Linked DNA regions of Homo sapiens: region 2 is linked to region 1. The links are contacts of gene promoters, found by promoter capture Hi-C in human tissues and cell types (Jung and others, 2019). All regions are on one chromosome and are shown on one strand. The core of a region is centred on a gene start or on the middle of the fragment in contact, and the rest is flanking DNA. Distances in the headings are between cores, read along the strand shown. Region 1 holds the start of CIDEB (cell death inducing DFFA like effector b). Region 2 has its middle 16 kb from the start of DHRS4-AS1.

What was found. Contacts are between HindIII fragments. The study calls those that stand out against the background at their distance.
Region 2: a contact is called between a fragment that was not itself captured here and the fragment with the promoter of CIDEB in region 1, in 1 of the 25 tissues and cell types used here (small bowel).

Annotation. Positions count from the first base shown.
Region 1 is chr14:24,306,195-24,310,216 of GRCh38, forward strand. It overlaps CIDEB (cell death inducing DFFA like effector b), which reads right to left and starts at 1,783. Exons shown (of 5, transcript NM_001393339.1): 1 at 1,624-1,783; 2 at 1,177-1,321; 3 at 180-329. The coding sequence starts at 1,664. NOP9 (NOP9 nucleolar protein) reads left to right here. Exons shown (of 10, transcript NM_174913.3): 10 at 1-2,930. It overlaps LTB4R2 (leukotriene B4 receptor 2), which reads left to right and starts at 3,946. Exons shown (of 2, transcript NM_019839.5): 1 at 3,946-4,022. The HindIII fragment of the contact is 10,071 bases long and covers 1,275-4,022 here.
Region 2 is chr14:23,970,145-23,972,961 of GRCh38, forward strand. It overlaps a transcript of DHRS4L2 not described here. Among named protein-coding and RNA genes, the nearest start is that of DHRS4-AS1, 16 kb to the left of the region's middle. The HindIII fragment of the contact is 4,031 bases long and covers 1-2,817 here.

The DNA of each region.
Region 1 (4,022 bases), core at 533-3,032:
TCCATCAGCACTGGGTCAGACCCTCCCTCGCTTGGACTTTCTGTCCACTGTGTGACATCCTTGACAATTCCACAACTCCTCCTGCACCTGGTCCCCAGGATCAGGGTTAAGCTAGAGAGGAAGCCCGGGAAAGCTCTAAAGGACAGGCATTGGAAGCAGCCCCAGTATAGGCCTCTTACCCTTGTAGGGCTCCAGCTCTGACCAGACTGCAACACCATCAGGCACGTGTCATCCTCCAGCAGCTGGAAGAAGTCCTCACTGTCCACTGCAGTTCCATCCTCCTCTAGCACCAGGGTTAGCACTCCATTCAGCAGTAGGGTCTCCAATGCCTGCCCAATGGCAAGAAGCAAGAAGGGCAGGTCTTATCCCATGCCCCTTCCCTCTTTAGCTGCCCAACATCCATCAGTTGGCTCTAGACATTGGTCGATGTCCCACTTTGACTTTCCGGCACTTTGATACCTCCTAAAGGTTGCAGCTCTCCGTGTTCTTCAGTTTTTGGGGGATCCTAGCTAGAGGCTGACCTTTTTCCTCTTTGCTCCTACCATGTCATTGGCATCTCCCCTTGCTCCCCTCCAAGTCACTTCTGGTTTGGAATTGGAAAGCAAGCCAGGTTCTCACGAAGTCCACCCTTCTGTCTTATCTACAATGCTGCACCTCACTTCCCACACCCTCAAGAGTTCTCCAGAAGTGTTTTCAGTAATAGTGTTTAACCTTTTTGAGTCCTTACTCTGTGCCAGGTATGAGGACTTTACCTACATTATCCTCTTACTCCTTTCAACAACCCTAGGAGGTGATGTATTATTATTGCCTTTTTATAGTTGAAGAAACTGAGGTTTTGGTAGGTTGAACAACTTCCCAAGGTTTGACAGGCAGGAAGTGGCAGAATCAGAATTTGAACTTGATTTGTCACACAAATCACCTTTCCATACTAGCTTCTGAATTCTGTCCCTCGAACTCTCCCTATCTCCTGCTAACCCCTGCTCCCATAGAAAAGCTCACTCGGTGGAAAATGAACAAATTGACCAGAGCTCATTAGGCCCACTCCGCTGCTTTTAGCCCTCAGAGGGAGGGGCAGCTGTGTGACTTCAGCCCTCTGCTCCATCATCACAAGTTGCCACTGTTGTGGAGCCCCTTGGCTACCCCTGCTATAGGAACCGAGGAACTTGGCCTACTTACTTTGGCTAGCAGCTCCTGGCGGGTGGCAGCTGTCAGGCCTTTCCGGATGGTCCGCTTGTGATCACAGACACGGAAAGGTCGCTGGGGTGGTGGAGCTGAGGTCCAGACCCTCCGTCCAAACTCCGAGCTTATATTAGATACTGACCTGGTAGTTGAGAAGAAAAGTCAAGAAGGGGCGAGGAGGGGCTTGGTGAGTGTAAAGGGCATGATGAGGGTAGAGTGGCTAGAGGGCTAGGGAGGGAGAGATCTAGGTTTATCGATTAGGGATGAGGGAGAGACCATGGAGTGCAGGTGGGGGCGGGTGGCTCAGGAGCTTGACAAGCCCACTGTGGAGTGGGGAGCAGGAGAGGAAGGGGTACTGGTTAGTCTCCTAGGGGCTGAGTGGAGTATTGTTGCCCTGCCTATATCCCCTAAAGGTGGAGGGTAGAGCGGAGGGTTAGCAGTCACCTGAGTAAGTCACTGGGGTTCAGAGCTGAGAGGTACTCCATGGTGGACCGGAGAGTTCCTTCCCTGGAACTTCTGGGCTGGGTGGTTCTCTCCTGTGCTGGGGCTTTAGTGGTGTTTTCTGTTACAAACCTGGGATCTCAGCCCAGGACAAGGTGGGAATGAGTCAAGCCTGGACTCTGGCCCCCCTGCCTGGCCAGTAAGAAGGGCAAAGTCCAAGGGGAGGGATGAGGGAGGGGCCAGATGGGGTCCTGGAGGAAGAATTGCCTGGCAAAAGCCATTGGAGCTTGTATGTGTGTCTTTGGTGATGACATGTGTTGTGAGGGTAGATGGGAACCATGTAAAAGGATGAAATGTGACTTCTGGTGTTTTTTTATTTCTATGGAGGGAATTTCTGGGGACGGTTTCTGGCTCTCAGGCTCTGAGAAGCTGCAGTTTATGAGTGGCTCTGTGTGTGCTGCCACCTACTGGAGAAGCCATAAGCTGCAGCTTTAGGAAAAGGGAACCCGGGGCAGAGTGTGGGGAAGTGGGATGGCAGCATGGCAGGGCTTTGGAAAATGAGAGGTGAGACTGTGTCCAGGAAGGGTGTAAGGAGAGGATGGATCCTGATACATGGATTCAGGATCATTAGGGTCCTGTCTGGGACACTGGCCTTCCTGCTTACCTGCTCTTTCCTTCCTCCTTGGTCGGAGGAGGGGCTGGCTCACTGCTCTGGCTTCATTTTCCAGAGCTGCCTGCTGCAGTCACACTTAGGTCATCTTCTCTCACTTTTCTCCTTTTGCCGATTAGTGGACGTGACAGAGATGTGAATGGGGCAGGGATGTCCTTTGATGGCATCAAGACTTTAGCTTCTGGTGCGCTGTGTCCCAGCTCTGATTTCAGTTGCAGCCGTGATGGACAGTTGCATGGAAGCTGAGACTCTCACTGACAGTGAAACCCTCAAATGAACACAATCCCTGCTTTCCTGCCAAGGATCCTTGTAGGGTCCCCCAGCTTCCCCACTTTTTTTCTGTGTCCTGACAAAGAAACACAGAGTAACTTGATTGCCCTGTGACCTGGCCAGTTGCATTTCCCCTGCAGGCTTGAGCCCAAGCCAGAGCCTTGAAAAGGTATTCAGGTTGTTGCCCAAAACACTGAAAAAAACTGGCCCTGGCCCTGAACCAAATACCTTGAACCCTCGTAAACTCCATACCCTGACCCCCTTGTTTTGGATATACCCAGGTAGAACAACTCTCTCTCACTGTCTGTTGTGAGGATACGCTGTAGCCCACTCATTAAGTACATTCTCCTAATAAATGCTTTGGACTGATCACCCTGCCAGTCTTTTGTCTTGGGCAATCTATACTTTTCTCAGAGGTTCCCAAGGCCTACTGAAGGGACTTAACATACTCTTAATGGCTTTCCTCTCTCTTGTTTTACCTTATGCCCTCACTTCCTGAGTTAACCTCCCAAATACAGGATCACCTGTACCCAAGCCCTTAGCTCAAGAATACAGGATCACCTGTACCCAAGCCCTTAGCTCAAGCTCTGCTTTGGAAGAACCCAAACTAAGACAGTGCTCCTGGTGCCCTCCCCAAGCAACCTCAAGTTCTGGCTGTTACTTGAGCAGAGGCCTTTCTTTTCCCTTCCCCCAGCTCTATCCATCTGCCAGGCCCCCCTCAAATCTCTTCATTTCCAAGTTTTGCTTGACTTTTCCAAGAGGAGAGGGCTGCTTCTTAGTATGTCCCTACTCATCCTTTCCTTTCTTGTCTTGTATCCTGGTGCAGCCTGGTAATGGGGCCTCTTCATGGTTGTGTGTCATGACTCCCTAACCATTATGCCTCCATGCATCCCCTGTTCCTCCTGGAACCTAGCACCATGCCTTACATGGAAAAGCTGTCATTGACAGCCCGGTGAGAGCCCTGAGGGTGGAGTGACTGGGGCAGGGCCTGAGGCAAGAGGTGGGAGGAGGTAGGAGGCCAGGGGCTCAGCCGGACCAGGAGACTGGAAACAGGCAAGGATAAGGCAGGTGGGGGACTGAGTTGTTTGGGTCACCTCTGCAGGCCAGAGAGACCAGGCAACATACACACTGCAGAAGGTGGGCTGGGAGGATTGGGGCCAGAGCTGGGGGAGGGATGAGAACAGAAGCAGGACCAGGATTCAGCAGAGTCCTCCTATTTCCTTCCACCACCAGGGAATCTTACTGCCCCACTTCAGCTTGTGCTGTTTCCTGGCAAGGCAGGCTCTCACATGCCTGGACGCCTGGGTGCGTTGGTGATGGGAAGGAGCAGGGTGAGGGAGGGGCCCCAGGAGAGGCCCAGGATGAGCCTCATCTTGTCCCTCCCCATTCTTGTCTTACCCTCTGCAAATGTGATAGGCACAGGACAGGAGTAGGCACCTCGCCTACTGCTGCTTAACCTTTC
Region 2 (2,817 bases), core at 318-2,817, 340 kb before region 1:
CTGCCTCGGTCTTTGGGACGCCCCGTCTGGTAGCATCCCAGATCCAGCACGTTCCTTCCGGCCCTGCACCCCGGCCCGGTGCCTCACACCCCGCTACCCCAAGCATCCAGACTCTAAGGCAGCCCCTGCATCTCAGTCCTGACATCGCTGTCCCTGGAGCATCCTCCGCTGGAGCTGGAGCTTGACAGGTAGGGTGGAGAGGGCGGTGGGGGGCGGGGGGCCGAAACTGCATCAGTTAACGGGGCCGTGGGGGAGGGAAGTCCTCCATTGCTAAGGCTTCAGTAGGCGTTCTATGATCACAGTGTAAACAAAGCTGCAGGGAAGCTCTAACTGGGCGGAACCCACCGCAGCTCAGCAAGGCCTACTGCCTCTCCAGATTCCACCTCAGGGGCCAGGGCATATCTGAACAAAAGGCAGCGGACAGCTTCTGCAGACTTCAGTGTCCTTGCCTGACATCTCTAAAGACAGCAGTGGTTCTCCCAGCACGGAGTTCGTGCTCCGATAACGGACAGACTGCCTCCCCGAGTGGGTCCCTGACCCCCATGTAGCTTGACTGAAAAACACCGACCAGTAGGGGCGGAGAGACACCTCATACAGGTGGGTGCCCCTGTGGAACAAAGCTTCCAGAAGAAGGATCAGGCAGCAATATTTGCTGTTCTGCAGCCTCCTCTACTGATACCCAAGAAAATAAGGTCTGGAATGGACTTCCAGCAAACCCCCAAAGACCTGCAGCTGAGGGGCCTGTTAGAAGGAAAACTAACAAACAGAAAGGAATAGCATCAACATCAGCAAAGGACAGCATCAACATCAGAATAGCAAAGGACATCCACACTAAAACCCCATCCATAGGTCACCAACATCAAAGACCAAAGGTAGATAAAACCACAAAGATGGAGAGAAACCAGAGCAGAAATGCTGAAACTTCCAGAAACCAGAACGTCTCTTCTCTTCCAAAGGAATACAAGTCCTCACCAGCAAGGGAACAAAACTGGATGGAGAATAAGTTTGATAACTTGACAGAAGTTAAGCTTCAGAAGGTCAGTAATAACAAACTACTCCCAGCTAAAGGAACATGTTCTAACCCATTACAAGGAAGCTAAAAACCTTCAAAAAAAGGTTAAACGAATGGCTAACTAGAATGAAGAATGTAGAGAAGAGCTTAAATGACCTGATGGAGCTGATAACCACAGTACAAGAACTTCATGAAGGATACACAAGCTTCAATAGCTGATTCAATCAAGTGGAAGAAAGGATATCAGTGATTGAAGATAAAATTAATGAAATAAAGTGAGAAGACAAGATTAGAGACAAAAAAATAAAAAAGAAACATTCAAATTCAGGAAATACAGAGAACATCACAAAGATACTCCTTGAGAAGAGCAACCCCAAGACACATAATTGTCAGACTCAGCAAGGTTAAGGGCAGCCAGAGAGAAAGGTTGGGTGACCAACAAAGGGAAGCCCATCAGACTAACAGCAGATCTCTCAGCAGAAACCATACAAACCAGAAAAGAGTTGGGACCAATATTCAACATTCTGAAAGAAAAGATTTTTGAAACTAGAATTTCATATCCAGCCAAACTAAGCTTCGTATGTGAATGAGAAATAAAATCCTTTGCAGACAAGGAGATGCTGAGAGATTTTGTCACCACCAGGCCTGCCTTACAATAAGAGCTCCTGAAGGAAGCACTAAACATGGAAAGGAACAACGGGTACCAGCCACTGCAAAAACATACGAAATTGTAAAGACCATTGATGCTATGAAGAAACTGCATCAATTAATGGGCAAAATAACCAGCTAACGTCATGACAGGATCAAATTCACATATAACAATACTAACCTTCAATGTAAATGGGATAAATGCCCCAATTAAAAGACACAGACTGGCAAATTGGATAAAGAATCAAGACCCATATGGTGTGCTGTATTCAGGAGACCCATCTCACATGCAAAGACACACATAGGCCCAAAATGAAGGTATGTCTGGAATTGGTGGGTTCTTGGTCTCACTGACTTCAAGAATGAAGCTGCGGACCCTCGCGGTGAGTGTTACAGTTCTTAAAGGCAGCGTGTCTGGAGTTTGTTCCTTCTGATGTTCAGACATGTTCAGAGTTTCTTCCTTCTGGTGGGTTCGTGGTCTTGCTGGCTTCAGGAGTGAAGCTGCGGACCTTCGCAGTGAGTGTTACAGCTCTTAAGGCAGCATGTCTGGAGTTGTTCGTTCCTCCTGTCTGGAGTTGTTCATTCCTCCTGGTGGGTTCGTGGCCTCACTGGCCTCAGGAGTGAAGCTGCAGACCTTCACGGTGAGTGTTACAGCTCATAAAGGCAGTGTGGACCCAAAGAGTGAGCAGCAGCAAGATTTATTGCAAAGAGTGAAAGAACAAAGCTTCCACAGTGTGGAAGGGGACCCAAGCGGGTTGCTACTGCTTGAAGGGGTGGCTTGCCCCTCCACACCTGTGGGTATTTCTAGTCAGGTGGGACAAGAGACTGAGAAAGAGAAATAAGACACAGAGACAAAGTATAGAGAAACAACAGTGAGTCCAGGGGACCGGCGCTCAGCATACCAAGGACCTGCACCGGCACCGGTCTCTGAATTCCCTCAGTTTTTATTGATTATTATCGTCATTATTTCAGTAAAAAGGAATGTAGTAGGAGGGCAGGGTGATAATAAGGAGAAGGTCAGCAACAAACGTGAGCAATAGAATCTACATCATAATTCAGTTCAAGGGAAGGTACTATGACTGGACGTGCACGTAAGCCAGATTTATGTTTCTCTCCACCCAAACATGTCGGTGGAGTAAAGAATAACAAGGCAGCAT